Regions from separate parts of the Homo sapiens genome. Here regions 2, 3, 4, 5, 6 and 7 are each linked to region 1. Evidence: promoter capture Hi-C in 16 types of primary human blood cells and fetal thymus (Javierre and others, 2016). All regions are on one chromosome and are shown on one strand. Each heading gives the region's core, a stretch centred on a gene start or on the middle of the fragment in contact. The rest is flanking DNA. Distances are from core to core; before and after follow the strand shown. Region 1 holds the start of ASNS (asparagine synthetase (glutamine-hydrolyzing)). Region 2 has its middle 34 kb from the start of SDHAF3. Region 3 has its middle 18 kb from the start of SDHAF3. Region 4 overlaps SDHAF3 (succinate dehydrogenase complex assembly factor 3). Region 5 overlaps SDHAF3 (succinate dehydrogenase complex assembly factor 3). Region 6 overlaps SDHAF3 (succinate dehydrogenase complex assembly factor 3). Region 7 overlaps LOC124901704 (a long non-coding RNA gene).

Region 1 (2,988 bases), core at 295-2,794:
ACTTCATTAGCAATTTTAATTTCACCTTTTGCATCTCCTTGAAATGTCTGCCTTTGCACACTCTCCCTGAAAGAGGAGGGCAAGGGAGCCAGGATAGAAAGTGAGGTGGAGAAGTGTAGAGCTCTGGACGGACAAGCAGGAGATACGCAGCACAAGGAAGCACACTAGGTAACACACCAAGCAGGGGAACCTGTCTTTCACTACATAGGCAAGATGCTACGGGAAATGGGCTCTGGGTTTACACAGATTATGACTCAGTTCTCTACTGTTGTGAAGCTGTGTTTGGATAAATCCCTCAACTTTTCTGAGTCTTATTTTTTCATTTGTAAAATGTAGATAGAAGACCTACTTTCCCACATTGCTCTCAGGTTTAAAGTACGTCAATTAGGATACAGCAAAGTCTGTTTGATACTGAAAACTTTCCAGCAACAATGAACCTTAGAACAAGTCATCTCTCATCTTTGCTCTTGCCTGTAACTACTAAGCGACTACTCCATCTTCTGTTCTTAGGGATTTTAAATTGTTGACGTTTTTGATTTAGTCAGGAATGCGTTGTATGGGGATATCAAACCTGCATGCTCTCCAAGCATTGACTGTAGTCTGATCTTAGTAGGTCGTGCACATATAATTTTACTATTTCTCAATTTATTTCGGTGCTGATGTAATTAGTAAAATACGATTTAAGAGTGTTATGATACTTTTTAAAAATCGTGATGTCTTTTCTTCATCAAAGAGATACTTAAAAGCACATAATCATCTTGTGGAGGCAAGTTGACAAAATCCTTTTTGAGATTCTAAAAGGAATCTTTGTACTTAAAATGTTTAAGGACCACTGATGTATTTTGGCTTCATGTATCAATTAGATTTAGATTTTATTGTTTTAGAGATGGGGGTCTCCCTTTGTCGCCCAGGCTGGAGTTGAGCTCACCTCAGCCTCAAACGCCTGGGCTCAAACTATCCTTCTGCCTCAGCCTCCTGAGTTGCTGGGACTACCATGGTGTGCCACCAATTTTTATAGAGATGTGATCTCGCTGTGTTTCCCAGGCTGGTCTTGAACTCCTGGTTTCAAGTGATCCTCTTGCCTTGGCTTCCCAAAGTGTTGGGATTACAGGCGTGAGCCACCGCTCCTGGCCCCGATTTATTAATAGATCTTATAAGGACATTTTAGGCCTCACGCATCAGTTTCTTAGGACAAGCTTTTCTCTGCACTGCATAATAAATCAGACGGCAGTGCAACAAAAAAACGGTGATGATTTCCCGAAGAACAAACCAAGTTCAGAAGCCTCCCTAATTGTCAGAACAGCAGGTAGCCTGGGCGGAGCTCTGAGGCTATCCTTAAACAGGCGCACTGAGACGCAAGGCGCTGGAAACAAAAGAGCTCCTCCTTGCGCCCTTCCGCCGCCCCACTTAGTCCTGCTCCGCCCCGGACACCCCGCGGCCCCGCCCCTGTGCGCGCTGGTTGGTCCTCGCAGGCATGATGAAACTTCCCGCACGCGTTACAGGAGCCAGGTCGGTATAAGCGCCAGCGGCCTCGCCGCCCGTCAAGCTGTCCACATCCCTGGCCTCAGCCCGCCACATCACCCTGACCTGCTTACGCCCAGGTGAGCCGGGTCCTGCGCCCCGTGCCCTGCGCCCCGCGCCAGCATCCTCCTCGCGTGCCCTGGGGCTGCTCCGGAAGGAAGGGGTGGAGGATGCGGTCTTCAGCCTGGCACCCGGCAGACGCGGTTCGCGGGCGCCTGCTGATGCTGCGGCTCCTGCGGTAGGGAGGGCGGGGCGGACGCCTAGCGATTGTTACGCACCTGACAGCTAGCGGAAGGACCTTTCTGTCCTGGTTCCCTGAAGCATCGAGAGGGAACCGCGGCCGGCAGGCCGGACCGCTCCGGAGAGGAGGCAGCGGCAGTTTGAGCCCCTGTAAATGTTATATGTGTACTTTTTTTTACTATGTGGCGTCGAAGCCTGTGGACATTTTCGCGGTCCGGGTCCCTGCGGCGGACGGGTCGGATCGTGCTCGTGGCCAGGGCGCAGTCAGGTGTCGCGTGGTCCTGATCTAGGAAGAGACTGCGGCCTTATCACCGTCTCGGTGTCTGCTTTCACCTTCAACTGCCCCCCTCCTCACCTGGACCGCTCACCCTCCTCCTCCCCTCTCACCCCGCCATCCCCACCAGTCCCCACCTGTCTCTGTAGACTGCAAGACTCATCAAGTGACTTGCTGAGCAAACCCTGCCGAGAAGAGGTCTGTTTAGGGACACAGGCGACCAAGTACAGAAAAAGGCAAAAGAACTAGCATGCCTTTTTCAATGGCTGTCATTTTGCAGGGCTGGCTTCAGATGATTGTTATAGCTTTAAATAAAAAGGACAGTTTTCATCTCGGCCCGTGGCCTACATTATTTCTTTACTGTCCATTGCCCTGGGCGCTTGACTAATAATTTAACAGCAGTTTTTTTTTTTAAATTTTAAATCATGATTCATAGCATTGCTGTAAGAGTAATTAGAGGTAAAGTAGGGCTTGAACCTGTCTGTAGTTGGTTACTTACTGAGATCTTAATATAAAAGTAAAGGGAGAGGGTGAAGTTGTAAGTAGCACTAAGTGGAATAGAAATTAAATGCACTGAAACTGCCATGTCCAGTTCGGTAGGCGCTAGCCACCTGTAACTGTTGAGCACTTGAAGTGCTGGCTAGTCCTAACTGAGATGTATTGTGTTAAATACACTGGATTTTGTCGTTGGAGTAGGAAGAACAGTGTAAAATATCTGCTCGATAATATTTTATATTGATTACATATATGTTAAAATGTTACTATTTGGGACATACTGAGTTAAGTTTATTTAAAATTAATTTCACCTTTTTCTTTTAATGGGGCTACTAGTATATTTAAAATTACATATGTGGCTTACATATATATTTATTGGACAGCACTGTTCTAGAAGTTTAGGAAGAAATAAGAAAAATATTGAGAACAGGTAGCGGCAGTAGGAACTTTGCCCTCCT
Region 2 (2,988 bases), core at 154-2,653, 790 kb after region 1:
CCATGTCTTGAGGGAGGGACTAGTGGGATTGATTGGATCATGGGGGCGGTTTCCTCCATGGTGTTCTCATGATGCTAAGTGAATACTCATGAAATTAGATGCTTTAAAAGTGTTTGTCAGGTCCCCCCTCACTCTCTTTCTCTCCTACTTCACCATGGTAAGATGTGCCTGGCTTCTCCTTCGCCTTCCACCATGATTGTAAGTTTCCTTAGGCCTCCCCAGCCATGTGTGACTGTGAGTCAATTAAACCTTTTTCCTTTATAAACTACTTGGTCTCGGGTATGTCTTTATAGCAGTGTGAAAATGGACTAATACGGTGCTTTCCTCCCTGATTTTTGACAAGGGCTCCCCATTTTTATTTTGCACTAGGCTTTACAAATTATGTAGTCAGCTCCACAAAGAGTAAGAGGAATTCTGCCTTTAAAACGTTTATTTACTTGCAATTATGTTTATATAATTGCAAAAAGTTTAAGGATTTCCAATAATTCCTAATCTCCTACTCTTTTTTTTAATTTGTCACCTCACCGTTTCTCTGAAGACTCCTCAGTTTTCCAGAAAACCTGAGTTTTAGTATCAGATTCTTGGAAACAATTGTTCCACTATCACTTGCACCATTTTTGTCAGTCATTTTGAATAAAAACTATTCACTAAATACAAGCTAAATGGGAGAAAGAGAGCCCCTAAAAGAATAAACAGTATTGCCGGGCACAGTGGCTCACCTCTGTAATCCCAACATTTTGGGGAGCTGAGATGGGTGGATTGCTTGAGGTCAGGAGTTCAAGACCAGCCTGGCCAATATGGTGAAACCCTGTCTCTACCAGAAATATAAAAAACTAGCCAGGTGTGGTGGCATGCACCTGTAATCCCAGCTCCTCAGGAGGCTGAGTCAGGAGAATACCTTGAACCCAAAAGGCAGAGGTTGCACTGAGCTGAGATTGTGCCACTGCACTCCAGCCTGGGCAACAGAGTGAGACTCTGTCTCAAAAAATAAAACATAAAATAAAAAGAATAAACAGTATCTACTACACAGTACTCTCAATTTGGGATAGCAGAGCCCTAGTCCTCCTTGGCCTAATAATACAGCCCACTAGGTGTCATTGGCTGAGAGAGTACATTAATATTTAGAGCATGGGAAAAATATATTAAACATGCACAATCATGATTTCACTTAATATATTTGTAAAGAAAAATACTATGCAAATTATGGAACAAATCACTTGTACGCTATATATCATTAAGGAGCCATGTGCTTACAATTTTGTATCCTGCATTCTTCACTTAATACTTAAATGTTTCTCCCAATGTATCTACTATAATTAGCTTATTATTTTCTTACTTCTGGATATTAGTTGTTTCTGGTTTTGTGCTTCAAACTCCCACATTTAGAATTACTTCCTTAGGATATATTCCCCTTAGGACAAATAATATGATATTGATTTAAAAAAATTGATATTTTCAAATTGCTCTTAAAAAATGTTACAGAAATTTCTAGTCCACAAACTTGAGCATTTCACAGTGTCTTGGTCCATTTTCTGGTGCTATGACAGAATATCAAGGACTGGGTAATTTATAAAGAAAAGTTTACTAGGCTCATGGTTCTGGAGGCTGGGAAGTCCAAGAGTATGACACCTGGCATCTGGTGAGGGTCATCACAGGTGGAAGAGCAGAAGACAGAGGGCAAGAAAGTAAGTGTGAGAGACAATTGCTTTTCTAACAAAGCCACTCCCACAATAACTAAATCACTCTCACAATAAGAAAAGTAATCCATTCATAAGGGAGTAGCCTTCATGACCTCATTGACTCCCAAAGGCCCTCCTCTCAACACTACCACAATGGCAACTAATTTTCCAACACATGAACTTTTGGGGGACACATTCAAACCATAGCATACAGCATCCTTTCCAACACAAATTTGTCACTTAATTATCAATTAATTAATCATTTCCCAATTCAAAAAGTAAATCGTACCTTATTGTTTTAATTTGCATTTCTTTGATTACTAGTAAGACTAAACATTTACTAATCATTTTTTAATACCTCTTTAGTAGACTGTCTTTGTATATACGTATATACCTTTAAAAAATTAATAGGATATTGCAACATTAGTGCTGGGCTTACATCCTACCAGCATAGTAATGCTGGCAAAAATAAATTCTCTTTCCCAAACTGATGATCACTAGATTGGATACGAAAACACACACACACTCTTGACCAGTCATCATAGGTAAAGGATAGAGTAGTACCTTCATTTTCAAGGTTTTGGTCATATGCCCAACCCATTATGCTGGTGGATGGAGTCATCCCTAGTTGAGCTGGGAGCAACAAACATCACTGCCCAATACAAATTCCTGAAACAGACTCAGGAAAACTACACAGTCTTCTAACTTTAGACATCATAGCGTATGGGGTTCAGTGTATTTCCACACCTTCAATTGGGTATAAATTCTCCTGAGCTAAAGGGAATTGTGGAACAGCTTATCACAAAATGACCATTTGTAAAAGACAGAATGTACTTGAAGGTGATCAATTATCAAGTGCTTAACTTCCTACATATAAAAACTAATGCTCCCTTTTAGAACCAGGCATCTGTTAAAAGCAAGCATTGTTTGAGATCTATTGTATACAGTATTTTATGAAAACATTAAGTTGTATCTTTAATGCATGTCCAAACAAAACTTACCTTGACACATCAGCCATTATTATCTTTTCCTCTGAGTAAAATGTGTCTGGATTGAAGTAGAACAATAAAAACATTTGCACAAAAAATGGAAAAGTATCTCTTTTAAGAGATATACTTTCAGCTTATAGTGTTCAGAGAGATGTAAACCATGAGAAGTTGATTGAAATGAATTTTGAAAACTTGAAGCTTAACAGTGCAGAGAAGTATACAATAAAAGACTTCTCTGAAAGTGTAAACAAAAGGAGTGATTACATAAGATTACCTCTTGGTTATTTGGTCTTTTTAGTGTACTCTTTCTGCTTATATTT
Region 3 (2,988 bases), core at 167-2,666, 770 kb after region 1:
ATACAAACATATAATTGGTGAACAGTGTCAGTTTGAGTTCCTCTTTACTGATTTGGATGCTTTTTGTTTCTTTCTCTTGTCTTATTGCTCTGACTAGGACTTCCAGTACTATGTTGAATAGCAGTGGTAAAGGTGGGCATCCTTGTCTTGTTCCAGTTCTCAGGGGGAATGCTTTCAACTTTTCCCCATTTAGTATAATGTTGGCTGTGGGTTTGTCATAGATGGCTTTTATTACCTTGAGGTATGTCTCTTCTATGCCAATTTTGCTGAGGGTTTTCATCATAAAGGCATGCTGAATTTTGTCAAATGCTTTTTCTGCATCTATTGAGATGGACATGTGATTTTTGTTTTTAATTGTTTGTGTAGTGTATCACATTTATTGACTTGTGTATGTTAAACCATCGCTGCATCCCTGTTATGAAACCCACTTGATCATGGTGTATTATCTTTTTGATATGCTGTTGGATTTGATTAGCTAGTATTTTTGTTGAGGATTTTTGCATCTGTGTTCATCAGGGATATTGGTCTGTAGTTTTCTTTTTTCTTATGTCATTTTCTGGCTTTGGTATTAGGGGGATACTGACTTCATAGAATGATTTAGGGAGGAATTCCTCTTTCTCTATCTTGTGAAATAGTTTCAGTAAGATAGGTACCAATTCTTCTCTGAATGCCTGATAGAATTCAGCTGTGAGGCCGGGTGTGGTTGCTCATGCCTGTAATCCCGGCACTTTGGGAGGCCAAGGCAGGTGGATCACGAGGTCAGGAGTTCTAGATCAGTCTGGCCAACATAGTGAAACCCCATCTCTACTAAAAATACAAAAAATTAGCTGGGTGTGGTGGTGTACACCTGTAATCCCAGCTACTCGGGAGGCTGAGGCAGGAGAATCACATGAACCTGGGAGGCAGAAGTTGCAGTGAGCCGAGATTGTGCCATTGCACTCCAGCCTGGGTGACGGTGCGAGACTCCGTCTCGGGGAAAAAAAAAAAAAAAAAAAGAATTCAGCTGTGAATCCATCTGGTCCTGGACTTTTTTTGATTGGTAATTTTTTTATTACTGTTTCAATATCACTACTTGTTACTGGTCTATTCAGAGTTTCTATTTCTCCCGGATTTAATCTAGGAGGGTTGTATATTCCCAGGAATTTATCCATCTCCTTTAGGTTTTCTAGTTTGTGTGCATAAAGGTGTTCATAGTAGCCTTGAATGATCTTTTGTATTTCTGTGGTATCAGCTGTAGTATTTCACATTTCATTTCTAATTGAGCTTATTTGGATCTTCTGTCTTCTTTTCTTGATTACTGTTGCTACTGGCCTATCAATTTTATTTATCTTTTCAAAGAACCAGCTTTTTGTTTCATTTATCTTTTGTATTTTTTTTTGTTTCAATTTCATTTAGTTCTGTTCTGATCTTTGTTATTTCTTTTCTTCTGCCGGGTTTGGGTTCTTGTTTCTCTAGTTCCTTGAGGTGTGACCTTAGGTTGTCATTTTGTGCTCTTGCAGACTTTTTGATGTAAGGATTTAATGCTGTGAAATTTCCTCTTCGCACTTTTTTTTGCTGTGTCCCAGAGGTTTTGGTAAGTTGTGTAACTATTATCATTCAGTTCAAAGAATTTTTAAATTTCCATCTTGATTTCATTATTGATCCAAAGATCATTGAGGAGAGATTATTTAATTTCCATGCATTTGTATAGTTTTAAGGATTTCTTTTTTTTTTTTTTTTTTGAGACGGAGTCTCGCTCTGTCGCCCAGGCCGGACTGCGGACTGCAGTGGCGCAATCTCGGCTCACTGCAAGCTCCGCTTCCCGGGTTCACGCCATTCTCCTGCCTCAGCCTCCCGAGTAGCTGGGACTACAGGCGCCCGCCACCGCGCCCGGCTAATTTTTTGTATTTTTAGTAGAGACAGGGTTTCACCTTGTTAGCCAGGATGGTCTCGATCTCCTGACCTCATGATCCACCCACCTCGGCCTCCCAAAGTGCTGGGATTACAGGCGTGAGCCACCGCGCCCGGCCGTTTTAAGGATTTCTTTTGGAATTAATTTCCAATTTTATTTCACTGTGATCTGAGAAGCTATTTTATATAATTTCAATTTTCTTAAATTTATTGAGACTTGTTTTGTGGCCCATGATATGATCTGTTTTGGAGAATGTTCCATATGCTGATGAAAAGAATGTATATTCTGCAGTTCTTGGGTAGAATGTTCTGTAAATATCTGTTAAGTCCATTTGTTCTAGGGTATAATTTAAGTTCATTGTTTCTTTGTTGACTTTCTGTCTTGATGACCTGTCTAGTGTTGTCAGTACAGTATTGAAATTCCCCACTATTATTTTGTTGCCATCTATTTCATTTCTTATGTCTAGTAATACTTGTATTATAAATTTGGGAGCTCCCATGTTAGGTGCATATATATTTAGGATTGTGATATTTTCCTGTTGGACTAATCCTTTTATCATTACATAATGTTCCTCTTTGTCTTTTTAAACTGTTGTTGCTTTGAAGTCTGTTTTGTCTGATATAAGAATACAGTATCTATCCTTCATTATTACAAATTTAAGGTGAGTAAGTCATATTCAGCTAGATTCCAGCTCTGCCACTTTTGAAGTCTATGCCTTGGGCTAGTTGTTTAACCTCTCTGGACTTCAGTTTCCCCTCTTAAAATGAGAATGTTGGTAGGTACTTAAAAAGCATCTGTTAGGCTGGGCTCAGTGGCTCATGCCTGTAATCCCAGCACTTTGGGAGGCAGAGACGGAAGAATCACCTGAGGTCAGGAGTTTGAGACCAGCCTGGCCAACATGGCGAAACCCTGTCGCTACTAAAAACACAAAAATTAGCCGGGTGTGGTGGTGGGTGCCTGTAATCCCAGTTACTCGGAAGGCTGAGGCAGGAGAATCACTTGAACCCGGGAGGCGGAGGTTGCAGTGAGCCAAGATCTTGCCACTGCACTCCAGCCTGGGCAACAGAGTGAGACTCTGTCTCAAAAAAAAAAAAAAA
Region 4 (2,988 bases), core at 255-2,754, 750 kb after region 1:
ATAAAATAGTAATAAGGAAAATTAATATTATCCACATATTCTTTCCCATATTTTTCATGAATTTTAATTTCTTTTTATTTTCCTTTCATGCATATATAATTTTTATCACCTTAAATTTGTACAAAAACTTCAAATTTTAAGATTGCACATTACCTATACACATACCTCTACACACACAATGTTTCAGAACTATGACCACTAGCATATTAACATTATCATGCTATTACCATTATTTTAAATCTGAAAATTTTGAATCATTTAAATAAAAGAAACATACACCTGTCTTCCAGTAACATACCATAAAGTCAATAATATATGCAATATTGATCAAACTATAATTTTTACTTTGTTACTTTATCATGAGCATTGTTATAACACATTTTATAACACCAATAAAAATTAAATATTCCTAAGTAGTAATATCTTAAAAGCTTCACTAATAATGCAAGTGTTTCAGACATGAAAAAGTAGAAAACATTCTATGTTGCAAGGATAAACTGTTTTGTATCTTCTCTTGTACCCCTTTTTAAACCATTAGTTAAGGACCACAGTATGGTTAAAATGTTTTAAAAGTTAAAACTTGACTTTGGGAGGCCGAGGCAAGTGGATCACTTGGTGTCAGGAGTTTGAGACCAGCCTGGCCAACATGGTGAAACCCCATCTCTACTAAAAATATAAAAACTAGCCAGATGTGGTGGACGCCTGTAATCCCAGCTACTTGGGAGGCTGAGGCAGGAGAACTGCTTGAACCCAGGAGAAGGAGGTTGCAGTGAGCCGACGCAGTGCCACTGCACTCCAGCCTCAGCGACAGAGGGAGACTCAGTCAAAAAAAAAAAAAAAAAAAAAAACTTGATGTAGAAAACATATATGTGTGACAAATCACCATTCAATAAACCATCACAAAAACACCGACAATGAGTAAAATGCAGAATTAACAATTTGACTGAGACCCAACTGACCCACTCATACTTGGGAAATGTATCCCTGACACATACAATCCATTCACTAAACAGAGAAGCAATTCATTCCTTTTCTCCTGCAAGCTAAAACTATAAATCAAGATGTTCAAGAGTAACAAAATGAGGTCCACAAATTAGGTAAGAGAAGCATACATTTATAAAAACTAGCCAAATACCCATCCAATCCTAATTATACTAAGGAAACTCTAAATATAGGTGACATGCCACTTAATAATACATGTGTATATATGATACATACATACAAATGATGATCCACTTCAAAATCATATATAAGAAAAAGACATCCCATGAGAGTTACAAAGGAATGGCTACCTGAAGTCTGAAGCATTTCCTCCTCTCGAACAAATGCAACAAAATAAAATGGGAAAGAAAATGTTATAATAACTAAATTATCACACAAGTATAAAGAATTGAACATAATCAAGAAGAGCAGTTACAGTCAGTCCGTGATACCGGGATCATTGCCTTTACTTGAAGAGAAGAAAAAGAAAATGGATTCTCTTGGATCTGGCAAGATAGCCAAATAGGAACAGCTCTGGTTGGCAGCTCCAAGCAAGACCAATACATAAGGCAGGTGATTTCTCCATTTCCAACTAAGGTACCCTGTTCATCTCACTGGGACTGGTTAGGCAGTGGGTGCAGCCCATGGAGGGCGAGCAGAAGCAGCATGGGGTGTTGCCTCACCCAGGAAGCGCAAGGAGTTGCGGGGAGGTGAGGGGCTCCCTTTCCCAGCCAAGGGAAGCCATGAGGGACTGTGCTATCCGGCCCAGATACTATGCTTTTCCCATGATTTTTGTAATCCGAAGACCAGGAGATTCCCTCGTGTGTCTACACCACCAAGGCCCTGGGTTTCAAGCTCAAAGCTGGGCAGCTATTCGGGCAGACACCGAGCTAGCTGCAGGGTTTTTTTTTTTTTTTTTCGGTACTCCAGTGGTGCCTGGAACCCAGGCAAGACAGAACCGTTCACTTGCCTGGAAAGGGAGCTGAAGCCAGGGAACCAAGTGGTCTCGCTCAGCAGGTCCCACTCCCATGAAGGCCAGCAAGCTAAGAACCACTGGCTTGAATTTCTCGCTGCCAGCACAAGTCTGAAGTCGACCAGGGATGACACAGCTTGGTGGGGGGAGGGGCATCTGCCATTACTGAGGCTTGAGTAGGCTGTTTTCCTCTGACAGTACTAAGGACTGGGAGGAACTCAACGTAACGCAGCAAAGCAGCTGTGGCCAGACTGCCTCTCTAGATTCCTCCTCACTGGGCAGGGCATCTCTGAAACAAAGGCAGCAGCCCCAATCAGGGGCTTACAGATAAAACTCCCATCTCCCTGGGCCACAGCACCTGGGGGAAGGGGCAGCTGTGGGCACAACTTCAGCAGACTTAAATGTTCCTGCCTGACGGCTCTGAAGAGAGCAGCGGATGCTGACAAGGAGGGCTTTCGCAGGACGGTGCTTGAGCTCCACTAAGGGACAGACTGCTTCCTCAACTGGGTCTTTGACCCCCATGCCTCCTGACTGGAAGAGACCTCCCAACAGGGGTTGACAGACACCTCATACAGGAGAGCTCTGGCTGGCATCAGGCTGGTGCCCCTCTGGGACGAAGCTTCCAGAGGAAAGAGCAGGCAGCAATCTTTGCTGTTCTGCAGCCTCTGCTGGTAATACCCAGGCAAATAGGGTCTGGAGTAGACCTCCAGCAAACTGCAGCAGATCTGCAGAAGAGGGGCCTATTAGAAGAAAAACAAACAGAAAGCAGCAACATGAACAGCAACAAAAAAGACCCTCACACAAAACCCCATCCAAAGTAAATCCATGAAGATGAGGAAACACCAGCACAAAAATGCTGCAAATTCCAAAAACCAGAATGCTTCTTCTCCTCCAAATGATTGCAACTCCTCTCCAGCAAGGACACAAAACTGGATGGAGAATGAGTTTGATGAATTGACAGAAGTAGGCTTCAGAAGGTAGGTAATAACAAACTCCTCTGAGCTACGGAGGCATGTTCTAACCCAATGCAAGGA
Region 5 (2,988 bases), core at 172-2,671, 720 kb after region 1:
GCTGGTGGAAATGTAAAATGGTACAGCCACTTTGGAAGACACTTTACAATTTCTAACAAAACTAAACATACTCTTACCATATGATCCAGCAATTGCATTCCTTGGTATTTATCCAAAGAAGTTGAAAAATTATGTACACTCAAAACCCTGCAAACGGATGTTTACTGCAGCTTCATTCATAATTGACAAAACTTGGAAGCAACCAGGATATCCTTCAGTAGGTAAATGAACAAACTGCAGTACACCCAGACAATGAAATATTTATCAGAGCTAAAAAGAAATGATCAAGCCATGAAAAGACACATAGGAAACTTAAACGCATATTACCAAATAAAAGCAGCCAAGAAGCCAATTTGAAAAGGCTACATTCTGTATGATTCCAACATGTAACACGCCAGAAAAGGCAAAACTAGGGTGAGAGTACACAGATCAGTGGAGAAACCACCTTTGCAAAAATTACAAGTGAGAAAATTATGACAGCAAAAGAGATATGACCTAATCAACTGCATCGTGACTTTAACCTCCCAACTGCCCTTGTTCATTCCTAGGTGTAGGTCTAGCTAACTTTGTGAGGAATTTACACTTTAATTTTGAAACAAAGACAGTGACAGGCCCTCCCCAAAACAAACATCCTCCTTGCTTGGAGACTAGATCACCTTTGTAAAACTAACAAATTTGCCACAAAATAAGAAATAATGGCTCAGGGCCAGATGCAGTGGTTCATGCCTGTAATCCCAGCACTTTGGGAGGCCATGGCGGGCATGGCGGGAGACCATTGCTTGAGGTCAGGAGTTCAAGACTGGCCAAGATGGCAAAACCCTGTCTCTACTAAACCACCACGCCTACAAAAATTTGCTGGGCATGGTGGCACACATCTGTAGTCCCAGCTACTCAGGAGGCTGAGGCACAAGGATCGCTTGAACCTGGGAGGCAGGGGTTGCAGTGACCTGAGATTGCGCCATTGCAATCCAGCCTGGGCGAAAGAGCGAGACTCCATCTCAAAATAAATAAATAAATAAATAAATAAACAAAATAATGGCTCAGAAGTCACGCAGTCAGAGGCCATAAACTTCCTAACCTCCTCAATTGCTCCTATGGATAACATTACTACTGTAAAACCTAAGACTGATGTTTGACATATTTTTCAGACCCTGCATTCTAATGGATCCACTGGTGTTACCCAGACCCATAAACTGGGATATCTGGTCTTGTGACCTCCCACCCAGGAACTGACTCCATGCAAGAGGACAGATTCAACTCCCTATTATTTCATCCCTAACTTAACCAATCAGCATTTCCCATTCCCTAGTCCATGCCTGCCAAACTATCTTTCAAAAACCCTAGCTTCCAAATTTTCAGGGAGGCTGATATGAGTAATACCAAAACTCCAGTCTCCAATTTAGTTGGCTCTATGTGTATGAAACAGTTTCTCTATTGCAATTCCCATCTTGATAAATTGGCTTCATCTGGCAGAAGGCAAGTAGAACCCATTGGGGGTTACAGTTGTGGGTTATCAGAGGTTGGTGAGGGGGATGAACCGGCAGGGCAGAGAGAATTTTTAGGGCAGTGAAAATATACTATATACTACTATAAAGATGGATACATGTCGTTATACATTTGTCTAAACTCACAGAAAGTAAGAAAACAAGAGTAAACCCTACATGTAAATGATGAACTCTGGGTGATCTTAATGTGTCAATGTAGTATTGGGGCTCAGAAAATGATACCCCAAAGTAAGGCTCTTTGGTATCATGACTGGGGAACAGCAGGGAACCAGTGGATGCAAGCTGAAGTTTTCTCTGAGGACCCCTAATCTGCCTAAAGATGGATCTGGAAAGACCGTACCACAGGAAAAAGAGACTAAAGGTTGGCCGAGCGTGGTGGCTCATGCCTGTAATCCCAGCACTTTGGGAGGCCGAGGCAGGCAGATCACGAGGTCAGAAGATTGGGACCATCCTGGTGAACACTGTGAAACCCCGTCTCTACTAAAAATACAAAAAAATTAGCCAGGCATGGTGGCAAGCGCCTGTAGTCCCAGCTACTCGGGAGGCTGAGGCAGGAGAATGGCAGGAACCCGGGGGGCAGAGCTTGCAGTGAGCGGAGATTGTGCCACTGCACTCCAGCCTGGGGGACAGAGGGAGACTCCAACTCAAAAAAAAAAAAAGGACTAAAGGTTAGCAACCTCACCCAGAGCAGCTTTACCCATTCTTTGGAGGGCTGCTCCCCGAGATATTTTAATCTATGTAGCAAGACAACCTTTGTTCCCTAGATTTCTTCCCCTCACCCTCCCAAAGCCTGTCTGTCCTCACCTCCACTCCCTAGAAGCCCCAAGCCCCTATTTCTTTCTGCAGCTACAGATATTATAAAAATTCCAATCATCTGGCCTTTCTGAGTCTTTTATTTTGTGAGACTCTCGTGTATATGCACATAATAAATCCGTATGCCTTTCTCCTATTAATCTGTCTGCTTTCAGTTTATCACAGATTCAACTACAGAAACTTCGGAGTGTGCAGTAAAAGTTCCCGTCACCCCTACAGTTTGTTCATCTATTGTAACAAATGTACTACTCCAGTGGGGGATGCTGATAATGGGAGAGGTTATGCATATGTTGGGGCAGAAGGTATATGGAAAATCTCTGTGCTTTCCTCTTAATTTTGCCAAGAACCTAAAACTAATCTTAATATATTAAGTCTTAAAACACACTAACAAACAACTGACAGCCAGGCGCAGTGGTGCAGGCCTGTAGTCCCAGCTACTGAGTATTTTAACCCCGCTATTCAGACTACTGATCAGAAAAAGATTCCTAGGCCGGGTGCGGTGGCTCACACCTGTAATCCCAGCACTTTGGGAGGCCATGGCGGAAGGATCACAAGGTCAGGAGATCGAGACTATCCTGGCTAACAAGTGAAATCCCGTCTCTACTAAAAATACAAAAAATTATCCGGGTGTGGTGGTGGGCGCCTGTAGTCCCAGCTACTCGGGAGGCTG
Region 6 (2,988 bases), core at 356-2,855, 700 kb after region 1:
ACCTGAAAGTTACCTGAATTACAATAACTAAATTCAAAGACACTTTGGGGATTTGAAGCACATCTGCCCAAGTCATTAATACAGAATATATTATAGAAAAAGAAAAAAGAACCTATGTTGGCAATGATAATAAATTTGGTTTCTTGGGCTCATTCTGACGAGGTTTTATGATTTTCAAGTCAAAGATGATTGATAGCTTATACATGCTATTTCTTAGCCCACAAACACTTGTAATATATAACTCTTTGATATACAGAGTGCAAAGAATAGAAAGTAACACTAGTGTCACTAATAAGTCAATTTCTCAGGTGGCCATGAAGCTTAGCCTCTGTGAAGTCAAATTCCCCAGGTTCCTCTGTAAACCAAACTCAAGATTCACCTGTGACTCCCAGAGATGAGCAAAAAAAGGTGTTAGTTGTGACACAGCACAGCAAAGATAAAAAGAAAAAAAAGCAAGAACGTAGAAAGTTCTTGGCTAAGGAAGTAGTAAGGAAATGTTATAGAAAACCTAGTTCACAAATATTCTTTATATTTGTCTACTATAAACTCTATGTCCATGATATTGGACACTTACAAATCAAATGTCATAATGTCAGAAATGAGAAGTCAGCACAGAAAATAAGCACATTCTTGTTTATGAAATTCATCCCAAAGTTCCCAGAAACAATAATAGCATTGTACTTAAGGTAATATTACATAACTTATTTTACTTAATCTAAAAATGTATTCATAAAACTAATTTTAAAAATACATTTTCCTGATCATTTAGGTGAATGGACTACTTGTACATTTTATGTTTTATATATAACCTTTAATTTATTCTTTAGTAATATTAGAATACAGTGAGGCACAAGGAAACTTTCTGGAGTAATAGATTTTTGTTATCTTGAATGTGGTGACAGTTTCATGGGTGTATACATATTTCAAAACTCACCCAAGTATACACATTAATATGTGTGGTTCACTATGCATCAATGACACCACAGTAAAGCTGTTACGTTAAAAAAAAAAAACGAACTAGCCAACTCCTTACCTTACTCACTTATACCTCAATGGAGGTGAGGATGGGTTCTAGCAAAGTAGCAAGAAAATAAGTTTAACTGTAATACCTAAGGATGACAATGATCCAATTAGATAAGAATGTATATACACTACTGATTTAAAAATTGATGGGGAACAAAAAACAGCTTATAAAGCTAATATACAAAACTCAAAAAAGGCTTTTGAAAAAATTCTTCCAATTATTTTACTATCAATATTAGTCATCAAAAACAACTAAATTGTAATAGTTAAGAAAATAGAACAAAAAATTTCACTCGCAGACATTAAAAACATAAAGAGTTCAAAACTATAATTTTTTCTTTTTTTACATTTTTTATAATCAGGCTTTTTCTTTTCACTCTACAGAAAAACTGCATTTAGCAATAGATTTTTAACTACCTGTTCATCTGTAATGCAGGTTAATTCTATATTTAAAAAAATTATATAAACTAAAGGACATGATGCATTCAAATTCTATTTTGATGTAATCTGTTTAGAAAATCACCAATTTATTGAGAAAATAAAATTAGTATGTTTTATAACAAATTATTTACATTATAGCTGTCACCAAAAAAATGTATAGCAATCTGCATAATTCTTACTCTCCAAAGGAATCTATTATAACATCAAGTGAGTTACATCAAATCAAGTATTTTAAAAATTATATTTGATATATATTGAAATTGACAGTACTTTCACACAGTTCAATTTGGGGTAATACTGATCCAAAGCAGACGATCATGATATTAATACTTTTTTTTTGAGACAGTTTCGCTCTTGTTGCCCAGGCTGGAGTGCAGCGCCGCGATCTTAGCTCACTACATTCAAGTGATCCTCCTGCCTCAGCCTCCCAAGTACCTGGGATTACAGGCGCCCACCACCATGCCCAGCTAACTTTTGTATTTTTAGTAGAGGCAGGGTTTCAACACGCTGGCCAGGCTGGTCTTGAACTCCTGACCTCAAGTGATCCGTCGGCCTCCCAAAGTGCTGGGATTACAGGCATGAGCCACCGCACCCAGCCCTGAAAGGCAAATTTTAACAGAAAATTTAAATATATTCTAATGTCTTACAAGTTATCTTCTGCATTTGTTATTCTAATTAACCAAATGAAAGAGTGTAGCATTATCACAATCACATTTCACGTTACCCAGAGTCTACATATCTGTAATCAAACTAAAATATCAAACAAATAAGATAGCTTACTCACTAAAGGAGAATATAAGAATAAGTATGTAAGAAATGAACAGGATATTTATTTATAGGCTAAAAGAAAAGGGAACAAAAATTAGTTAAGTAACATAATAAAAAATGTAAAAGGCATGAAGAAAACACAAAAGCCAAGTGTATGAAACCTCTCACCTTGGAGTCAACACCTATCCCAATTACACCCCCGGTTAGCAGGAAGAAGTTAGAGCAGGTGTCACACTTTTTCCATCTTCATTAGCCCACACCTTAAGATTAAGGTGTTATAAAACCCAAAGGAAGGGATTGAAACCATCATTGCAAAATTATAACTGAGACAGTGAAAGAGATCTGACCTAACCAACTCCATCTTGCTTCTCATGTCCAAGGTATCCTTATTCATTCCTGGGCACAGGTTGAATTAACTTTGGGAGAATTTAGTTTACAGTTTTAAACAAATATAACACAATCTTTCCCAAAACAAACCCCCTTCTTGCCTGGGAACTAGACTGCTGTTGTAGGACTAACAAATTAGCCAAAAGATTATGATTTCAGACTCATGCAGCTGGAGGCTACAAGATTCTGACCCTCCCCCAAATTGCTCCTGGGGATAATATCACTGTTGTGAAACTTAAGATTGATGCAGGATTTTTTGCTCTAAGCTTAGTTCAGCTAAATCCAAGTTCTTGTCTCATGACCAGGAAAAATTAGGCACGTGAACACGTTGAAGGGTGATGAGGGCAGAATTCATTAGGCAAAAAGAGG
Region 7 (2,988 bases), core at 279-2,778, 680 kb after region 1:
CGCAGGTGGCAACCTTGCTCATATTTTGTTGTCTGACACTATCTTTTTTCTACCTTCATTCCTGAAATACACTTGCTAGGTATATAATTTTAAAATGGAATTTATTTCTCTCAACACATTAGGGATAGTCATTCAACTGGTTTCTGATTTCCATTATTGTTCTTGAGAAGTCAGCTTAAGATTAGTTGTGAGGAAGATTCACTGTGCACTGCTTACCACTTTAGCCCACTGCATCTTGCACTGCAGTCTCTACTACTTCCAAGAGTCTGGTGAGACAGGACATTCACACACATGTTTCATGAAGTCGTCTTATTAATTGTAGGTAGGCAGTAAGGAAAAACAGTAGCCCAGGATTCATGACAAGCAAGTCTCCAAAGGCTGAGGAAAGCTGCCTAGGGCAGATTGGGACTCATCTGTGCATACTCTACTTGCACTGTCACGGAGAGCCCCTGGATTTTGAAAGCCGTACCCCCTAGGAGGTGACATGGGCCGCTGGGTTAAAGTGGTGAAGGACACCCTGTTCCAGGAGGGACAGGAACAGAGCCTGGGCTGTTCTGGACAATTCTTTATTAGGATGTTGTATTCCTGGCACATTTCTACAAGAACTACAAGTGAGAAAGTGGAGAATAGCTGGGTCACCAAAGCCATCCAGGGACTTGTCCTGTACTAGCTGAGGTTCCCTTGTGACTTTTGTTTCGGCTGCTTTTACAAGTTATTGGCATTCTGCTGCTTCAATACGGTATGTCTAAGAATGAGGATTTTATATCTATCCTGCTTAGGATAAATCCATAGACTATGTGTTTCATTGATTTGAAAAAGTCTCAGGAAATATAGCTTCAAATATTGGTTCTGCCTCGGTATCTATCTGAAACTATTAGATATACATGACACTCTTGTGTTTTAACCACCTCTCATATTCTCAAGTTTGTTTTTCATGCGGAATTCTGGATACTTTCTTTTGGTTCTGTATTGCAGTCACTAATTCTCATTATTTCAAGTCCATCTTGTCTTTTGAACTTATCCATTAGGGTTAATTTTTTAATTTTAGTTATTCTATTTTCTACTTCTATAAGAAGTTCCATTTGGTTCTTTTTCAAATATGCCAGCCTACTTTTTATAATGCCTTGTTTCTTGCAGATATTTCCAAATAACTTTTAAGTTTAAACATGTGAACACGTTTTATATTATACATGTGTTAATTCCAATATCTGAGTTTTCTGGTGGTCTGTCTCTGCTGCCTCTTAGTCATGGTGCTAGCTTTCCATGTGGAGTCTGCTTGTTTACTGAAACTTGAGGATTCACTTTTCTGGAAATTATCTGTGACCCGAGTATCCTCAAAAGCTTGTTTACATTTGTCAGGTACTCATTCTGGGGCCATATATTAAATTTATAGCTTAAGTTTTGTTTTAGTACACAGATGACTTGAATCCAGGATAGCCTGCAATTCTGTACAAGTACTGGAGCAAGTTTTCTTCTGGCTCACTCTAACCCTGAGGGTATATATAGTCTTTAGGGTCCTGTCTTTCTGGAAAAACCGTTTATGACTCTCCAACTTACGTGGGTTCTGTGCTTTGTCTTCTGCCCACTGTGTCCCAAAGGACCATCAAAACCAAAGTAGAAATTCATCTTAGGGTAAAAGAGGCTTTGCCAGTTTCACTTAGCAATATTGGCCTTATAATTAATCTCTTAGGGTATTGCCAGCTCCTAGAAGCTTCTAAAAAATACTTTTTCTACTCTACCTAAAAGTTTTCATTTTCAGCAGAACTGCTCAGATTAGCATTGTTTGCCACATTACTGAAAAGAAAATCTAAAATTTTATTTAAAATCCCATATATTTCATAGCATCATTTTCTCACCTATCAATGTCAGGAAATGTTCCATGTCATTAAAAATTCTTCATAAACCTACATTTAAACTACTTCGTTATACATGTCATCACAACTCACTTAACCTTTTAAGTATTTGGGGGAGTTCTGCTGTTCCAAATTCACTCAAATATCATTTTTAATAACATGATTATGTGAAAAACTGCACATTCCTGAATATCTTTTCTTTAGGATAGAATCTTAGAAATAAAATTTACGGGTTCAAAAAGTACCAATGTTCTTAAAGTTCTTAATATATATTTCCAATTTATTTTCAATAAGCTGTATCAGATTCCTCTCAACCACCAAGTACAATGGTAAGAAGCCAATTGTGCCATGTATCACTACCATTAAGTACAATCCAAACACCCTCCTCCACTCCAAATGTTAAGCAGGGAAATAGGATTTGCATATCACTAAGGTGACTGGCTGCAAGTAACATACTAAAAAAACAGGCTGGAGACAAGAAAGCCATATATAGATTGCTACAGAAAAAAATTGTAAGTCTAAAGTATCAGACTAATAGTCAGAAAAGGGGGAATGAGTGATTTTGAGACAGTAAGGCAGTACAGTGTATCAGCCCTAACTATATAATAAGCTGCCCCAGAATGTACTGATTTAAAAGAACTGCCATTAATTTAGCTTGTAATTGGCAATTTGGACTGGGATTAGCTGTCATGGCTAAGCTCACTCATATAAATGTGGTTGGCTGAGAGCTGGCTGGTCTAGGATGACTCACCTTTGCTCCACATGATCTGATCCTCTGGTAGGCCAGCCCTAGTTTGCTCACATGGCAGTTGGACAGATGTCCAATAGTGCCGGCAGAAGTATGCAAGGCTCTGAGGGCCCAGAACCTAAGTTTGCATAATATTACTCCCTCATTCTTTTGAGCAAATCAAGTCACAAGGCCTGCAGATTTGAATAACTGAAAAACAGATTAATAGGCACTGCAAAGTTACCTTGCAAAGGGCATGGGTACAAGGAGTGGTAGAGAACTATGAGCATTTTGTGATCCACCATGTAGTGTTGTCAGAATTGCTGAATAATGAGGAAGAGGCCTGTAGGGAAATGGTGAAATCGAAGCAAAATTGCAAAAATCTGAACTGGTAAACTGTGTACATGT

The links. Contacts are between HindIII fragments. The CHiCAGO score rates a contact against its expected background, and 5 or more counts as called.
Region 2: a contact is called between a fragment that was not itself captured here and the fragment with the promoter of ASNS in region 1, in 1 of 17 cell types (M2 macrophages). The highest score is 5.4, in M2 macrophages.
Region 3: a fragment that was not itself captured here is called in contact with the fragment with the promoter of ASNS in region 1 in 1 of 17 cell types (M1 macrophages); the score reaches 5.6 in M1 macrophages.
Region 4: a fragment that was not itself captured here is called in contact with the fragment with the promoter of ASNS in region 1 in 5 of 17 cell types (erythroblasts, total B cells, M0 macrophages and 2 more); the score reaches 9.0 in erythroblasts.
Region 5: a contact is called between a fragment that was not itself captured here and the fragment with the promoter of ASNS in region 1, in 3 of 17 cell types (M1 macrophages, M0 macrophages and endothelial precursors). The highest score is 8.4, in M1 macrophages.
Region 6: a fragment that was not itself captured here is called in contact with the fragment with the promoter of ASNS in region 1 in 4 of 17 cell types (M2 macrophages, monocytes, erythroblasts and 1 more); the score reaches 10.2 in M2 macrophages.
Region 7: a contact is called between a fragment that was not itself captured here and the fragment with the promoter of ASNS in region 1, in 2 of 17 cell types (monocytes and M0 macrophages). The highest score is 5.5, in monocytes.

Annotation. Positions count from the first base shown.
Region 1 is chr7:97,870,964-97,873,951 of GRCh38, reverse strand. It overlaps ASNS (asparagine synthetase (glutamine-hydrolyzing)), which reads left to right and starts at 1,544. Exons shown (of 13, transcript NM_001673.5): 1 at 1,544-1,601. All of the region lies in intron 7 of CZ1P-ASNS (CZ1P-ASNS readthrough), which reads left to right. RefSeq lists silencers at 1,313-1,402, 1,713-1,822 and an enhancer at 948-1,663. The HindIII fragment of the contact is 3,580 bases long and covers 1,199-2,988 here.
Region 2 is chr7:97,082,316-97,085,303 of GRCh38, reverse strand. No RefSeq gene overlaps it. Among named protein-coding and RNA genes, the nearest start is that of SDHAF3, 34 kb to the left of the region's middle. The HindIII fragment of the contact is 2,931 bases long and covers 1-2,868 here.
Region 3 is chr7:97,098,399-97,101,386 of GRCh38, reverse strand. No RefSeq gene overlaps it. Among named protein-coding and RNA genes, the nearest start is that of SDHAF3, 18 kb to the left of the region's middle. RefSeq lists a silencer at 2,829-2,988. The HindIII fragment of the contact is 8,667 bases long and covers 1-2,988 here.
Region 4 is chr7:97,125,758-97,128,745 of GRCh38, reverse strand. The region is part of intron 1 of SDHAF3 (succinate dehydrogenase complex assembly factor 3); the gene reads right to left. Among named protein-coding and RNA genes, the nearest start is that of SDHAF3, 9.6 kb to the right of the region's middle. The HindIII fragment of the contact is 2,142 bases long and covers 434-2,575 here.
Region 5 is chr7:97,150,680-97,153,667 of GRCh38, reverse strand. The region is part of intron 1 of SDHAF3 (succinate dehydrogenase complex assembly factor 3); the gene reads right to left. The region is part of intron 2 of LOC107984034 (a long non-coding RNA gene); the gene reads right to left. Among named protein-coding and RNA genes, the nearest start is that of SDHAF3, 34 kb to the right of the region's middle. The HindIII fragment of the contact is 5,764 bases long and covers 1-2,988 here.
Region 6 is chr7:97,168,124-97,171,111 of GRCh38, reverse strand. The region is part of intron 1 of SDHAF3 (succinate dehydrogenase complex assembly factor 3); the gene reads right to left. Among named protein-coding and RNA genes, the nearest start is that of SDHAF3, 52 kb to the right of the region's middle. The HindIII fragment of the contact is 2,565 bases long and covers 323-2,887 here.
Region 7 is chr7:97,186,893-97,189,880 of GRCh38, reverse strand. All of the region lies in intron 1 of LOC124901704 (a long non-coding RNA gene), which reads left to right. Among named protein-coding and RNA genes, the nearest start is that of SDHAF3, 71 kb to the right of the region's middle. The HindIII fragment of the contact is 370 bases long and covers 1,344-1,713 here.